Linked DNA regions of Homo sapiens: regions 1, 2, 3, 4 and 5 are each linked to region 6. The links are contacts of gene promoters, found by promoter capture Hi-C in human tissues and cell types (Jung and others, 2019). All regions are on one chromosome and are shown on one strand. Each heading gives the region's core, a stretch centred on a gene start or on the middle of the fragment in contact. The rest is flanking DNA. Distances are from core to core; before and after follow the strand shown. Region 1 has its middle 63 kb from the start of LACC1. Region 2 overlaps SERP2 (stress associated endoplasmic reticulum protein family member 2). Region 3 holds the start of LOC105370182 (a long non-coding RNA gene). Region 4 overlaps LOC105370182 (a long non-coding RNA gene). Region 5 has its middle 51 kb from the start of SERP2. Region 6 holds the start of SMIM2 (small integral membrane protein 2).

Region 1 (2,700 bases), core at 68-2,567, 220 kb before region 6:
GGCAAAGGAAAGCTGAATTTGCTCTTTCTTCTGGAGCAGGGAAACTTGTCTTCTCCTACCCTTGGACATTAGAACTTCAGGTTCTCTGGTCTTTGTTTCTCAGCCCTTTGGACTTAGACTGAAGCAAGTTACCAGCTTCCCTGGTTCTCCAGCTTGCAAATGACCTATCATGAAACTTCTCAGCTTCAATAATCATGTGAGCCAATTTTCATAATAAATCCTCTATCTATCTATCTCTCTATCTATCTATCTATCCATCCCATTGACTCTGTTTCACTGGAGAACCCTGAGTAACATAGTTTTCTTTGGGAATTGCCTTATCTGAAGAGAGTTACCCTGCCAAAGGTCATGTTTCCTACCTATAGGGTAGTCATTTCCAATAACTGGACCCCCTTAACCCAGCTCAGGACAACTCTGAAGGTCGATTCCATCTTTTGGTAGGATTAGCTCTGGTCCTTGTTGGGACCACATCACAACCCTACTTCTTCCTCTGCCTAATCCTATTTCTATCCTTTCCATCAGTGAGGACCAAGAGGACTCCCTAACAAACTTTCTACTTATTAATCTTTATCTCAGTCTACTTCTTGGGAGTCCTGACCTGCAGCAGTTAGTACTAGCAGAATATCAAGGAAACAGACACTGATTTAGCATTTAGGGGCTGGATGACCTGCTGCCTAGCTAGGAGTAAAGACACCATCACTGGTGGTAGAGATTAGTACTATGCCTGAGCCCAACAGAAATCAGCATGGCCAGCAGCAGAGATCAATGCCGAGTCCCCAGTACAGCACCAACCCTCCAGAATGCCAACCAGCCACTTGGTGGCAAGTTAAACACATTAGACATTTTCCACCCTGGAAAGAGTAGTGGCTTATTTTGATAGAAATAGAAATATATTTGGGGAATGTATGTAAAAGTTTGTCTTTCCTTTCCACAGAGCTTCAACCAGCACTACTACTTGAGGACCTATGCAGTGTTTGTCCATGAGCATGGAATGACTCATACTGGCCTCAGAGTTAGGGACTCACTTTAAAGGAAAGGGGATGCAGTAGTGGGCACATGACTAAGAAATCCACCGATCCTCTCATATACTGCACCACCAGAAGCTGCTGGATTAGCAGAGCAAAGGTATGTTCAAAGAACAGCTGAAGCAGGAACTTTGAGATTATACTTTGTGGGGATGGGTGTCATTATCTAGGGTGCAGTGCTTACCAGTAATCAATGAATTTTATGTAGTGCTACATCCCCACTAGATAGAATACATGGGTCCTGGAATTAAGGGGTAGAGGCATGAATGGTCCTTCATCTCTCCCAGTTATCTGCTTGCGGGATGTATCTTCCTTTCCTGGCATCTCTGGGTTCTGTGGGTTTAGTGGTCCTGGTTCCCAGAGAGGAAATGCTTTCACCAGAGGACACAGCAGGAATCTTACTAAACTATAAGCTGAAGCTGACTCTTGGGCACTTTGAGATCTTCGTGCTAAGGGACCGACAGGCAAGAAGGGGATGCTTCCTGGCATCATTAGGACATTGGGCTACTGTTATACAATGGAGACAGGGAAGAATATATATGGCACCCACATTATTTATTTAGGTGCCTCTTGTTATTCCTTTGCCCAAGTTTGACAATAGTAGACAAGTGCAAAAGCCATAATCAGAGAAGGACATGGTGATTGAGAGCTCAGACCCCACAGGATAAGGGTCTGGTTCATGTTACCAGGCAAGACAAATAAACCTGTGGAGTTTCTAGGTGAGTTTAGGGAGCATATAGAATGGAGAGTAGAGGAGGGAGAATGTGATCCCAAGACTGGCTGCAGTGGCTAGAGATGTATTTTATTCCACTAAACCTCAATAAGTTTCACTGAGAATCAGATGCCCCAGCATCCTAACTAAGCTGCCTCCAGAATTTATACAAAGCAGTGGATTCAAAGGGTGGACTCTGGTGAAATGTTGCCCATATTCCTATTCAATACTTAAAATCTTACTCCTCAAGAGGTTGAGAATGTTGCAAACAGACAGTTTTAGCTTTCAGGTGTCTTTGGAAATTGTCTCAACTTAAGAGCTGCTGTGACTTCTTGGGGCAGCTAGCATCCAATGTTGGGGGTATAAAGACTTGTCTCCTCGTTTTGAAACTTGGTATATTCTAAAAAGCCATTCTAGCTTCAGAACTCCCTGTGGGGCTGGCTGAGGTCTTTGTTGAGACTGCAGTTATAGCCTAATTTCTCCCTTTTCCCAGCATTCTTATTTTCCTTCCCTTCTTCAGGTGTTGATCAAGAGTACCTCTAATAACTTCTTCCATGCAAAACCACTACTCACTCTCTGGTTCCCTGGGCATCCACCTGCAACAGTACTATAAAAATATATAAAACAGCAAAATGAAATAGAAGATCAGATACAAGGCGAGGCTACTCTAGTTATGATGATCAGATAAGTCTCTAAGGAGCTGAGATGTGAATGATGAGAAAGATCACAGAAAGATCTGGGGGAGTAGCATGTACCATTCCAGACAGAAAGAAATATGAAGGCCCTGAGGTGACAATGAGCTTAACATGTTCCAGAAAAAGAAAGAAGGTCAGTGTAACTCAGGCATGACAAATGAGAATGAGGCTGATGGAAACAGTGGCCAGATCATGGAATTTGAACTTTATTCTAAATGCAATAAGGAGTTACTAGAAGTAATTAAATATACCACTTTGACTTACAGGA
Region 2 (2,700 bases), core at 62-2,561, 240 kb after region 6:
AGGCATGGTAGAAGTAATCTTTTTTTTCCTAATGTTGAATATACAGCTGCCTCCTGACATTCCTATTGAGCCAGAATACAGAATGTTTATTTAATTTTTACTCCTTGTGAGCCTTGGTGGGGAGGAAAGAAACATCAGATATTTCTGCAAGCTTATAAATTGTTGTAGGGTACTTTCTCTTCCAACTGCTCCTGTTAAGACCCACCCAAGGCCGGGCACGGTGGCTCACGCCTATAATCCCAGGACTTTGGGAGGCTGAGGTGGGTGGATCACGAGGTCAGGAGATCGAGACCATTCTGGCTAACACGGTGAAATCCCGTCTCTACTAAAAATACAAAAAATTAGCCGGGCATGGTAGCGGGCACCTGTAGTCCCAGCTACTCGGGAGCCTGAGGCAGGAGAATGGCGTGAACCGGGGAGGCGGAGCTTGCAGTGAGCCGAGATCGCACCACTGCACTCCAACCTGGGCGACAGAGGAAGACTCCGTCTCAAAAAAAAAAAAAAAAAAAAAGACCCACCCAAGAACCCAAACTTAGCTAAGAAAATATCTGAGCACATCCAGAATTAAATATCACAAGTTGTTGGACCAACACCTTCACCATATCTACAGATGAGTCCCTGACACTCACATGGAGCTGATTGACTCTGATTTGACTCGTAATTCTAACAGTTTCTGTTTTCAGCTTAGTCTACGGCAACAAAATAATAGTACAGGACCCACTGCAGATTGGTGTAGTAATACAAGAGATGTGACCAGAGATGAGAAGAAAGAGACCCAAAAAATGATCAGAAGCAGAAATGGGAGCCCAGAAGTGCAGCTGACCAGAAGCATTTCAGTGTCAGATCACACGCAGCCTCCTCTGTAATGAGATCACAGCACGTCTCATCAGTTACTGGTTTTCATTATGGTGACACTGAACACTCATGAAAAGTTAGCATTGAAATATGTTGGTATCTCCAATTTAGAAAGGTAGTGATGATGGGTACAGTGTTTTTACGGGGAAAAAAAGCCAAAAAATGCATTCATGTTTGTCTACTCTTAAAACCCAGCTGTCCAAGAACGATTCCCCAAGGCCCTGTCCATCATTTCTCTTTCTATCCTTGAAGCGCAGTGTCTGACACATAGGATGTGCTCATTGATGCCAGATGATGAAACTTGAATGGCTGGTTTCCTAGGGTTCTGGATAACTCTGTTTTACCGTGGATCCTGGATGTATTCCAGGATGACTTTAAGAAGGCGAGAAGGGGTAAGACCCCTGAGAGCTCAGTGTTTATTCTGTTTTTACACATGGTTAGATGAGATGATACCCACCCTCCTTCAAAAAAAAAAAAAAAAAGCCATTCAATACATGGTAGTTACTCTTATCATTACCATCATCTTTGTCAACACTGACCACGGTTGCTCACTGGGGAAGATGTGAAAAAGAAGTTGGGATCTTCCGCTCCTGGGACACATTTGAAACCCAATAGCTGGAAGCAGGCTGAAGCTATGTAACCAGCTCTCATCCACATGGGCAAGGGTCCCAGGAGTTCTCTGTGGGCTTACAAGCTACCCACCCCCTTGACAACTCCAGTTATTAAAGGTTGAGCCCTGAATAAATAAGTGCCGCTCTCCATAAGAGACAGCCGCCTTTCAGAGAGTTCCAAGCAGCTGGAAGATACTCACGCATGGAGGGTTCTAGGCAGACAGAGGCCGGGCCCCGTGGGCTGCTCCGAGCACCTGGTCGGCCTTCCCAGCACAGGGCTCATTGTTTTACAGGTCACAGCCATTTTGAAAAGGCAGACTCACTGACCTGTTTAATGAGTGCAGTTTCTGCACGAAAGCCCATATCCCTCTCCCAGGCAGCCCCAGAACTTTGCTGGGGAAGGGGGCCAAATCTCTTCTCAGTGCCTGAGGGATTTCTGGCCTTAACTGCTGGTGGAATTAGCAGGAGTTATCTATAAATCCCTGAGGCATCCATCAGCCGACTGAGCGAGGCTGCCTTTTTAAAGAAGTTCACTGACCTCTTGTTAACTTAACTCCTTGTTAGGAAATATCTAATCAGCTGTGAGCTAACACGTCAGGGCCCAGGGGTCTGCAGAAGCCGGGCTCACTGTGGGCTGGGTTTCCAGCTGTGTGCAGTCTGGTGTCTGAGCTGTGGTGTTTTCCTCTTTTCAGCTATCTTTCAGATCATTCAGAGCATAAGGATGGGCATGTGAGAAAGCCAGGGATTTGACACCACCTCCCTCCCACTGGAGGCGGGAGGACAACGGAAGCGGTCAGCCAGTTTCTGCGGGAAACAAGCAGGCCACACGGAATAGAAAAAAACGCTCCCCCACTTGTTCCCTGATCACTTCATCGTGGATGTCAGACCAAATTGCCTTCTCACAGGACATCTTGGTGCATCCGCGTTCTCAAGCGGAAAGGACATTTTGCTTTTCTGTTGGCAGGATTAGTAGCCACGCGGGTCGTCCGCAGCAGTGCTGTTTTTTTGGTTTTTCCCTTGGTTTCACTAATGCGTGCATGTGGCCCTCTGAACGATCACTGGTTTACTTTCTATGGATACAATCTCTCCTCCATTGAGAATTGATTTTACAAATAAATGTCTTCGTTCAACCTTATACCATGTGTGGGTTACAGTGAGAAAACTAAAGTGAAGAAAACAGCAGAATAGCTCAAGGAAAGTTGGGAGGTGGGGAGATTTGGTTATGCAGTTGGAG
Region 3 (2,700 bases), core at 106-2,605, 150 kb before region 6:
GCCAACCAAAGATGTTTCAACTATGCATTCCCAAGGTTTTTGCCCCATCAAATGCATACCCCTGGAATCTAGATAAGTCTCTATTTACATACAAGCGTCTCCTCCCCTTGTACATTTTCCCACCCTACAGCCCGTTGCCAGATCCCGTTATACTCAGGGAATATCCTGTCTGCCTAGGCTCCCTTCCTGGCTATTAGAAGTCAAAGCCCTTCGCGTGACAGTAAGAACGGAGCCTGAAAACGATTCTGCAAGTCTGGTTTCTACAGGGATCACGGGCCAATAATACCTGTCCAGAACTCACTTACCAGTTCCAAGTGGGTCAGCACAGCAAGAGGACATCAAATTGTGAAACCTACTAGTTATGGAGCTAGGCAGAACTGAGGTTATGATGAGGTTCAGAGTTTAGACAATGAAGCTTTGAGGAAAATTCCCATAGCTGGGAATTCATAGCAGCTTTACTGTACTTCTTAAACCTCAGACTTAGATGTGGGAGGAGCACCTGGAGTTGATACAAAGTAGATGCAGCAGCCAGTGGCACTCAAATTCAGAGTCAGAGCTCCCAACAAAATTCAGTTAAGAAATCACAACCTAGTCAATTCTCAGCCTGTAGGCTAAAATCAAGTGTGAGAAAATCGCAGCCCATAGACCCTAGCCCAAATAAACTGGACTCTTTCCACAACTATGCTGGCCTTTTGCAGTAAGCCTAAGTGCTTTAAGGATGTATCTGTTCTGGATCTCACTGTTAGGCTGTGGTCAGACAGGCTGGTGAGCTGGGAAAAGCCTTTGTGAGGCCCGGAAACTCTTTGGTGGCTGGGAGCAACTTGGGAAGGGGGAAATCCCCTCTGGCCTTATCTGTCCAAGCCCTGCTTTCTTCTCTCCTCTATCTTCCACTCCTTTCTTCTCTCCACGAGTGCCTCAGAACCATCAAACCCTCTAGTGCCTTAGCCCTGATGTTAGGACGCTGTTGGGGCCTTGGGCGTGGCTGCTGAGTGCCCAGTCTCTGGAAGTGAGTCGTCCATTTGTTGGGATGGACAGGGACCCTGCACAGGGACCCTGTGGTTGATACTGTCTTGTTCCAGTGCTGGTTTTGAATCTTGGCCAACAGAACACAGAGCTCGTGCCACATGCAGTGAGCATAGCCCCTCCTTGGAGCCTGCCTACCTTTTCCCAAAGGAAGAAGAGTGGACAGTTTTGCAAACAGGAAAGGAGAATTTATGTGCTTCAGGAAGGGCAGTGCCTCTAAGAGGGAGAAATAACACTTGTTAAGAGGGAGAAGCTGTGTCTAACTGTGTCTTTCTTGGTTTGCCTAAATGTAGGCCATTCAGTGGCTTCTCAGGAGAGAGATAGGAGCGAGGGAGGGAGAGAACGGGAGAGATATGCAGGGAAGGAGATTAACCTGGCATCTTGTTATTGCAAAAGAAGTGCCACAGGAAATAACAATGTCTGGAGAAAGAGTAAATAAAGTGCCCTTGTGGCGCAAGAAGGAATGGGATGAGGGATGGACTTCCTATTGAAAACTGGACTTTGGCAGTGGAAGCTGGTTGTGAGTTACTCAGACTTGTAACTAATGAAATCTTTCATTAGGTTGGAGGGTGGATGGGTTACTTTCGATAAATTATTTCCAGGGATTTTGCTCGTTCCTCGAATTCCTTCCTGAATGGATCTGGGATAAAATGCTGAATCAAAGTGTCAGGCAGGAGCTGCAGCACGGCAATCCAAATGATAAACAAGGGTAAGGGAAGGCCCAGCAAACGGCAGGATCTGAAGTTTCTGGCACCAAAAGAAAAGCTTACAACCCAGGTCCTACCTTGGAATTGCCCTTTATTATAAACTTTTGAATGATGCGAGCATAAAGCAAAGTTAGTTTCTGATTTGTTAGACTCATTATGAAAATATTATTGGTAATACAGAACTCACGTAAGCAAATACAACAATATCATAAAGGTCTAAAAGTGACCTGGTGAACTCTACCTAATGCTATTGGATATATAATCCCCACGTGAAGTTTCCTTTTTTGCAGATTCATTTAAGAGCCCTTCAACACTGATTAGATAACGAGGAAAATGGCAACTACAAGATTTGAAACCCAAGTGGCCAAGGAAATAGAGTTGCCATTAATGGAAATAGAAAAGACCCCAGGAATGACTGGCTTGAGAGAAAGCTGATGTCACATGCTGAGTGTGAGATGTTGGAGAGATACCGAGTTAGAAACAGTACCTTGGAGGCAGGAGTGACTTGGAAAAAGTTCTAGGAATTAGTCATAGTAGAAGCCAAGGAAGTAGATATGATCAAAAAGTGAGAGATGGTGAGGGAGCAGAGAAGGATGCGAAAAAGACACCTGGAAAATGCAACTGTGTGGGGATTGGCCAAGGACAGGAATCCCTGGAGATGGAAACGAGGAAATGGAAATAAACTAAGGAGAGAACCAGCACAGAGCATTTGTATGGAGGCCAAGGGAGAGTGTAATCAACAGTGGCCTACAAGGCCTTACTTAGATGGCCTGGGTTCTGTAGCTCTCTGACGCCTTCCTATGAGCTTTCCCTCAACTTTTTCCTCTCTAGTGCCCTGGCCTCCTTGCTGCTCCCTGAACACACAGACATGTCCTGTTAGGGCCTTAGCACTGGCTATAGCCTCTACCTGGAGCACCCTCTCTCTGAGGTCCACATGGCTCTCTCTCTCTCTCCTCCTGCAAGTCTCTGT
Region 4 (2,700 bases), core at 40-2,539, 160 kb before region 6:
TGGCCTCCTTGAAGACTTTTCAGAAAACCCTTCTCTAGAGCTCTTCAGATTTGGTTGGCTCAGTCAGAGCTTATTTGAAGCCAAAGCAAGCTACATATGTGACTTCTGTGTCTTATTTGCACATTGTCAAGTCTTTTCATTTAACCTGGGCCTTGGATCTGTCCCACATGGGCAAGGAAGTCCTTTGATAGTGGCATGATCTTGAGAAGCATATTCTGCAGATGGTGGATGATGTTAATAGAGTCTAACTAATCAACAGGTTTAACTTGGCATAGAGGAAATGAGACATGAAGGCCCAAAGGGTGGCTGATAAAAAGGCACAGAGTTACCTGAATGGGCTGTGTTCCATTTTAAGGTTCCTGGTCCAAATGTAATTGAGAACTGTCGTGGCTCAAAGCCCTAGTATCACAACTGACGGCTATTTGGCCATTTCCTGCTTTGGGCTCTTAGTTCAGTTACTAGAGGACATATGCCCTGCAGACTTCAACTCACAAGTATAAAGAAATCATATCTTTAAAAAAATACGGTTTCCAAAAATATAACATAACTAAATAAAACCCAGTACTGAAGGCAGGAAGAAAGAGCAGTCTCTTAATGCTTAGTTGAAGTAGCTGCTACAGCACATGGGACATTTTGTTCATTTCTTTTATTGAAGACAGATTGGAGAAATGAGAAGCAGTTGAGTTCGGGAAATTAATTATTGTATCATGTTGTCAAATCTTGTAATATTTTAAATGTAGGATTACATGGACATCATCTGAGAACTAGCAGCTATAAGGCAGCAGGGGATTGATGAGGAAAAGCAAAATGTTCTTGAGTCAGTCATTAAATCAGTTTTCCTGAAGAAAGGATAACCTTGTGTTATATGCATTCGGGGTTACAGAGTGAAAAATGTATTCTGCATTCTCATGTACACCAGGGGCATAATCTGACCCAGGTGTAACCCAATCTATGAATCAAAAGGTGCTTTATAACAGGATTTAATTGTACTTGTCTGGAATTTTGCCCCTCATTCTAGTTGTGGGATTTAATTAATCCTTACCCAGAGGTCAGTCACTTTGAGACAAATGCCATAAAAGGACAGAGAATTATCTCACTGTGAATTACAGTTAAGCACAGCCAGTTTTCATTTTATTACTATTATCAATTGTTTAAAAAACTTTGCTGAATGATTTCATTGTACATGTGCCTTCAGGCTTTCTACAGCAATTTGGAAAATACATTATAGAATAAACCACAAGATTATTAAAATGACATTAAACAGTATAAGGCCTAATTTCAAAGAAGGTTGTAATATCCATATTTACTCATATTTCATCTCCTTATATAATTATTCACACTCTGTATTTTGGGGATAGAACTTATAAGCGTGTGTTCCTACCTAATTATCTCACCACTTCCCCCTTAATTTTTTTCTTTTCTTCTTTTCTGTTGAAGGAACTCTGACTTCTAGCAAGAGCTCTTAGGAGAATTTCAGAACTAGAGGCTGAGTGATCTGGATAAAAACACCAGAATCCCTTTTTAATGTTCTTTCCTTTCAACATATCTAATTTTTTTTTCCTTCCAAAGAATACCTTTTGAACAAAACAGAGTGGGTTTGTCCTCACCACAGTTGGCAAAGGCTTAGATTAAAGCTTTCTTCCTATTGCCCTTTTATTGCCAGTTTCTTACCTGTTTCTGCCCCCTTCTTTCCTGAAGTGATAGAGATTGGTCTGTGACTGCTGCTACTGCCACCGAGCGAAATTAAGAAGGGGAAATTAAGAAGGGGAGGATGTGAGTAATAGCTCCCTCCAGACATCTGCTTGTGCTTCGGACCCCCACAACCCTGGGGGAATGGAGAGCAGATCTGAGGTGATTTGCCTGAAGCCGTTGCTTGGTAACCTGTTTTGAAGCAAACACACTGAAGTATTAAATATAAAACTTGAAAGAAAAGGAAATTTAAAATAAAGCCCACCTTTTAATCACTGCATATTTTCCCTCCCCCTTTTCTAATTCATCTTCCCTTTTTATCTCTTCAAATAAGGGGTCAGAGGTATATTTCAATCAAGATCTTTACCACAATCCCTTCTTTACACCCAGATAAAGGGTTGGATGTGGGAGGATGGTTTGTCATAAAAATATAAAATAACTTGCCTGGGTGAGTTGCCGTAGTAGAAAGAGTGCTGCATTTACAGCCAGACCACCAGTGTTCAAGTTCTAGCTTAGCTATTAACAATTGCAACTACTTAACCACACAGTGCTTCAGTTTATTAAGTTGCAACATGGGTGATATGGTTTGGTTCTGTGTCCCCACCCAAATCTCATCTCAAATTGTAATCCCCACATGTGGAGGGAGGGACCTGCAATCCCCACATGTAAAGAAAGGGAGGTGATTGTTTCATGGGACAGTATTTTCCCCATGCTGTTCTCATGACAGTGAGTGAGTTCTCACAAGATCTGATGGTTTTTATAAGTGTTTGGGAGTTCCTCCTTTGCCCATCTCTCTCCTTCCACCATGTGAAGAAGGTGGTTTCCTCCCCTTCTGCCATGATCGTAAGTGTCCTGAGGCTTCCCTAGCCAGACAGAACACTGAGTCAATTAAACCTCCTTTATTTATAAATTACCCAGTCTCTGGTAGTATCTTTTTTTTTTTGAAACAGAATCTCGCCCTGTTGTCCAGGCTGGAGTGCAGTGGCATGATCTTGGCTCACTGCAACCTCC
Region 5 (2,700 bases), core at 14-2,513, 160 kb after region 6:
GGCATATAAGATTTTTCGTTGCCTACAGTTCTGCTCTTAATTAGCCCTATCTCCATTAAGTATGACTCAAGACTACATTTCTTGATAACGTAGATGAAATTGGTTAAGAAAATTAAAAACTGGAAAGAGACAGGCAATACAAATCAGTTTTCAAGAATTTGTGATGAGCAATTGAATCCAGCCTTTTCTTTGAGATGTGAGCAGACTCTGTTTTGAATGGCTTCTCTGCGGATAAGTAGACTTGAAAGCAGGGAAGCTGTCTGATGCAGCAGAGAGGTTGTGATGTTGAGGTAATTATTGATGCCACCAATATCTGCCTGTGTGACCTTTCCTTGCACAAGTTATTTAATTTCCCTGGGATTTGGTTTCCCCTTATATAAAGTAAGGGATTTGGATTAGATGAATTGGATTAGATGAGTCCTAAATCTGCTCAAGCTTTGAACATTTAAAATTTTGTATCAAGCAATCTATGCTGAGAGCTTTACAACATATCAGAAAGCAAGCGATTTAGAGAGAGTTCTGCCTCTTGTGAAGCTCAAATGCACATCCTACGAAGGCTTCTCACTTTGGTTTTCCCTAAAACCAGGACATTTTAGTCATCTTAGGAATCTCAATTATTATGAAAAGTTTCCCAACTTAACAGGGACAGATTTTCATAAACATAGAAGGGTGGGGGTGTCAGAAAACTTTACTAACAGAAGGTACTTCAAATGGAGAAATATAGTGGGTGTTTTAGTCAAGGTTATCCAGGAAAACAGAACCAATAGAATATATAGAGAGAGACATATATAAGAAGAGATGTAGAAATTGGTTCATGCAATTATGGAGACCAAGAAGCTCCGTGATCTACCACTGCAAGCTGAAGACCAGGAAAGCTGGTGGCATAACTCAGTCAGAAGGCCTGAGAGTAGGGGGCGAGGAGGTGAGAAAGAGGATGGTAATAGTGTAAGTCCCTGTCTGAGTCCAAAAGACGGATGTCTCAGCTCAAGCAGAGAGAGCAAATTGGCCCCTTCTTCACCTTTTTGTTCTATTCAGGCCCTCAAATAATTGGAAAATGCCCAGGCATGGTGGAGGGCCATCTGCTTTATTTTGTTCACCAAGTCAAATGCTAATTTCTTCCCAAAATACCCTCACCGACTCACCAGGAATAATGTTTTACCAGCTATCTGGGCATCCCTTAGCCCAGTCAAGTTAACACACAAAATTAACCATCATGGTGGAAGGATGGAGGCATCACCCTACAGCCATAGTTCTGAATCCTGTTTTGGTTTGTACCAGTCTCCAATGGTTCATTAACAGTAAATACTATGGCAAATATGCAATGAAGATTTTTTCATTAAATATTTAAATTTTAGCATGGCATTTGATTTATACTTTTCAATTGATTGGTCCTTCACAACCATGGATTCATAGTTTAAAATGAGGTCATGTCAAAATGGAAGAATAGTGACTATGGTAAACACAATGACTCAGACTAATCCAAGGATTCATATTGACAAGTGGGCTATAAAAATGTAGATACATCAGCCTACCATTTAGCCCAATATTAGCAATTTAGTTTCAGCAAAACATCACCTAACACATGAAATCAGTGTTGTTAACTTGAATGTTATTGTTGGTGTTGTCTTGTTTGTATTTAATTAGTGCATTTTTAATGGTTCTATAATAAACATAACCATAAGAAATGTATGGCTACTTTCATATTTGTGCATTTTTATGTAATGCTATAATAAAAATAATTTAAATCAAAAGTTGGGATCTCCAAGAATTTTTTTCAAAGATATTCATCCTCAGGTTCTCCAAACATCACAGTAAATGAATGTGAAGTTTATTTCTTCATATATCAGATGGAGATGATAATTGTTTAGTTCACAAGGCTATTAAGAAGATGAAATGTGATAACAGTTGAAAGAGGTCTGGAAAGTATAATTTGTTACATAAAATCAAGGAAGTAAAACAGTATTTACTATAAAACAAGCACAAGTAAAAAAACAAAACAGCTAGCCAGTATCTACCTCCCAGCCTGTGTGTTCAGGCCTCTTGGCAGAAATGTACTTACAGGTAAAGAGTAATGACTTATAACCTAGATGTGTTCCTTGGGGATTCCCATACATGCGGCAGAATTTAACCTGCCTCATTGCATCACTGTCTCTGTAAACACATAGAAACAAGTTTACTCAGGGCTCCGCTCAGCTATTTGGGAAAAAACCAGGTCCAGGTAAATGCAGCTGCCCACTCATGAAACTGAAGCTTCCCAGAACTGTTTACAAGCACCTGATTACAGAAGAAGGCTTGAAATCTAAGCTGAAAAGCCTTTTGACAAAGGCAGGTAGGCAAGATTTTCTACAGCATGGTCTTTAGCACCAAGGGATCCAAATGCTCTGCCTTTCCTAAAGCACTGCAAGCCGGTCGGGACTCAGGGAGGTGAATGCATGCGGGGCCTGCAAGGCAGGCTTCTAGACAGCTCAAAGCATGAAGGACAGTGAGGGGGAGCAAGGGAATACCAAGACGTATCAGGATTTCTGCATGAAGCTACTCACTAATGCCCAGGTATTGGTATTTACTAAAGAGAGGGTGGGTCACTTCCACCAATTAAAATAAAATTTGGGTAAGCCAAACATTACCTAGTAATTGCAGAAATTTAAAATGTGATATCTAGCACGAGATTTGCCACTCTTTACTCAAGGTGAGTCAATTCTT
Region 6 (2,700 bases), core at 127-2,626:
TCATTCCTCATCATGCCACTTGGAAGGAGAGCAAAAGGTGGGGAAAGAGGAAGGGCCAACATCATCATCTGCATTTTATGTGGGGAAACTGAGGCTCACATAAGCCGTAAAGTGAAATGTATAGACATTTATGAGTCAGAAATCGACCATGGAAGAGGCAAAATGAGCTTATCTGAATCATGAGTGGACTATTTCTTGCCCAACAATTTCATGCAGCTCTTCCAACACAACTGTTTTGATACAGCAGCCTCAAAACAAGCCAAAATTCAGACTCGCTGTATTTGGTTTATAACCAGTTTCCCATCTTTCATTCCTTCTCTGACTTCTACCTGACTTCTGAATTTGGTTGACCCTGTTTTTTTGTTTGTTTGTTTGTTTTGTTTTACTTTAAAAGACCCTCAACCCTCCTGGAGTCCTGACCTGCTATTTCTTTCATTTTGAACCTCTACCAGTCCTTTCCTTCATCTGTTACCAATCCATACACCCTTGATGCCTGGAGGTAAGATTGACAATGGAGGGGGGGAGGTGAAGATCAAGGTTGAGGTGAAGCTCACAGATGGCCTGCAAGATGCCTATTTTACTCATCATTTATTTTTTAAAAAGCTGAACATTTATCGGCTGAATCTTTGAGCCATACCAAAATATCCTCATGTCAAAATAGCTGCAGTAAAGTGGTTCTATTAAAATAGCTGCCTCCAAAGAACTGAGAGTGGAGATGTCACCTGCTTCTGGCACCTGACTTTGGTCCTCTTCTGCGTGGCATTGCCTTCTGCTCTGCTGGATTCTGGCGTATGGCTCATCAGAGGAGGCACTAACATCAGGGCTGCCTTTTATCTTGCTGATCCAAGCGAGGACTATGTAGGTGTCACAGATGAAACTCGTCCAGAAGCCGAACAGGATGCTAATGGCATGGCCACGTGTTTCCAGCACCCTGTGAGGCAGCTGGCTGGCATCAATCCTCTCCCCAGCTTCCATCCCACCCCCATCCACCCATAAGCTCTTCTTGGGTCAGAAATGCAATTCTTTGATGGTGCCAGACAGCCAGATGATGCTGGAAAGAAGAAAGAAAAAGAAAAAGCAGGTTTCTAAATTAAGCACAAGGCTCGTTTATAAAAATAAATAGCCACAGCCTAGCAACGTGCTCACAGCTCAGCTTTCCTCCGTAATAAAACCTCTGTGGCTGAAGCCTGGGATGACACAGCCTTCAGAGGGCCCCACGCCCTGGCCCTCCTCATGCCCTGGCCTCTCCCAGGATAATACTCACCTGGAGAGTGCTGACAGTGGTACTTTTGGGGCCCCACTCTTCATTCAAGGCCAACCAAAGGCCAGGCTCCAAAAAGCAGAAGGAAGGCAGAGCTTAATGAGGCCCATGAACACTTACAGACTCTTGGCAGTAACTAATACACCTGTAGCAAAAGTGGTTGAAGTTCCTTGGGCTACTCTGTTGAAATAGGAACTTCTAGTTAAGACCATGTCTTCTTTGTTCACCATTGAACAGTACTCAGCTAAGCACAGGGCACGTATTGAGTACTCAACCAGTATGTGAGGAAAGACTGGTTAGAGGTATAAATGAATGAATGAATGTTGCCATCCCATTATTGATGCTCTCCAAACTCTTCACTACAAATGGAGTCAGTTCCAGAATCCAAAGCCAGCATTCTTCTCCTGATTATGACATGCACCAAAGAGGCATCCCCTGAGCTGGATGTTTAAATCAGAGCCCACAGCTGAAGTGAGCACCAAGATGTACTGAGCAAGTGTGGACTCTTACTGATCCAAGTGGTGAGGCTCTTACAATGGGCAAGGGCAGAGGGCATGCGATATGTAGGTAACTATTGTTAGCATTCCTGAATCTTCTCCTGTTCTTTAGGCAGCAGCAGCTTCAAGGGTGAACTGTTGCTCAGCAGAGAAATGGCAGGAAAAAATAGGACATTCGCTTCTGGCCTTAGTCCTGTTGGAACACAAAAAGTGGAGTCTGCAATGCTGTTGGAGGCTCAACAGGTCAAATACATCAGTAATGGGCATGGTATGGCTGGGGTCATACGGAGACAGTCCTTAGAGCACTGAAAATGTGATCATCCTGAATCCCATAAGGATCCTTATGAGGTTAGAAGGGACAATGTGGCTCCACTTTGATGACTGACAGCAGTTGCTTTGGTGAGTTTCTACGTATTCCCTTGTGATCAGAGAGTGGTACAGGACAGCATGTCAAAATCGTAAACCACCATCTCAGAGCAAGGCCCCTTAGTTACAATATTAAAAAGATCAGAGAAATTGGCACATAGCATCATTTAGAAATCTGTCTTCAGGCATCTTTGTCTGGCCTGGCTGGAAATAGTAAAACCATATTTATGTCATTGAGAAAAAGGTTCTTAATTAAATTCAAATGTATAAGAATATATCGTAGGTCTATTTTTGGAACAATAATCTGGGAACAAAAAAAAATCTAAACAGCAACAAAACTTGTACAATAGCATTTAGCTTCAGACAGCAGCATACAATAGAGAAGAAGGAGTCCTCATAGACTCTGGACTCTTAGATTGATTCAATCCCACAAGCTAGAGCACCAAAGTCATGGCACTGGGACATTTAGGAAGAGGAACTCTAGCAGTGACCTGATTAGGAGACAGCTCCAGCAGAGAGTCAGCACATAGACTGGCCAAGCTGCCCCCAGATCTTTGGTGATATCTCTTTGGTGGA

What was found. The method cuts DNA at HindIII sites, captures the fragments that hold promoters and counts their contacts. A contact is called where the count stands out against the background at its distance.
Region 1: a contact is called between a fragment that was not itself captured here and the fragment with the promoter of SMIM2 in region 6, in 2 of the 25 tissues and cell types used here (hippocampus and mesenchymal stem cells).
Region 2: a fragment that was not itself captured here is called in contact with the fragment with the promoter of SMIM2 in region 6 in 6 of the 25 tissues and cell types used here (H1 embryonic stem cells, aorta, dorsolateral prefrontal cortex and 3 more).
Region 3: a contact is called between a fragment that was not itself captured here and the fragment with the promoter of SMIM2 in region 6, in 5 of the 25 tissues and cell types used here (H1 embryonic stem cells, dorsolateral prefrontal cortex, heart left ventricle and 2 more).
Region 4: a contact is called between a fragment that was not itself captured here and the fragment with the promoter of SMIM2 in region 6, in 2 of the 25 tissues and cell types used here (aorta and small bowel).
Region 5: a fragment that was not itself captured here is called in contact with the fragment with the promoter of SMIM2 in region 6 in 3 of the 25 tissues and cell types used here (bladder, dorsolateral prefrontal cortex and mesenchymal stem cells).

The regions. Positions count from the first base shown.
Region 1 is chr13:43,941,489-43,944,188 of GRCh38, forward strand. No RefSeq gene overlaps it. Among named protein-coding and RNA genes, the nearest start is that of LACC1, 63 kb to the left of the region's middle. The HindIII fragment of the contact is 6,702 bases long and covers 1-2,700 here.
Region 2 is chr13:44,395,114-44,397,813 of GRCh38, forward strand. It overlaps SERP2 (stress associated endoplasmic reticulum protein family member 2), which reads left to right. Exons shown (of 3, transcript NM_001010897.3): 3 at 2,159-2,601. The coding sequence ends at 2,199. Among named protein-coding and RNA genes, the nearest start is that of TUSC8, 9.5 kb to the right of the region's middle. The HindIII fragment of the contact is 9,805 bases long and covers 1-2,700 here.
Region 3 is chr13:44,014,530-44,017,229 of GRCh38, forward strand. LOC105370182 (a long non-coding RNA gene) reads right to left here and starts at 513. Exons shown (of 6, transcript XR_941918.3): 1 at 306-513. The HindIII fragment of the contact is 6,234 bases long and covers 1-2,700 here.
Region 4 is chr13:43,996,333-43,999,032 of GRCh38, forward strand. LOC105370182 (a long non-coding RNA gene) reads right to left here. Exons shown (of 6, transcript XR_941918.3): 4 at 1,672-1,881. Among named protein-coding and RNA genes, the nearest start is that of NRAD1, 25 kb to the right of the region's middle. The HindIII fragment of the contact is 3,546 bases long and covers 1-2,700 here.
Region 5 is chr13:44,320,994-44,323,693 of GRCh38, forward strand. No RefSeq gene overlaps it. Among named protein-coding and RNA genes, the nearest start is that of SERP2, 51 kb to the right of the region's middle. The HindIII fragment of the contact is 4,651 bases long and covers 1-2,700 here.
Region 6 is chr13:44,159,881-44,162,580 of GRCh38, forward strand. SMIM2 (small integral membrane protein 2) reads right to left here and starts at 1,377. Exons shown (of 3, transcript NR_197392.1): 1 at 1,265-1,377; 2 at 723-1,051. RefSeq lists an enhancer at 1-508. The HindIII fragment of the contact is 7,742 bases long and covers 1-2,700 here.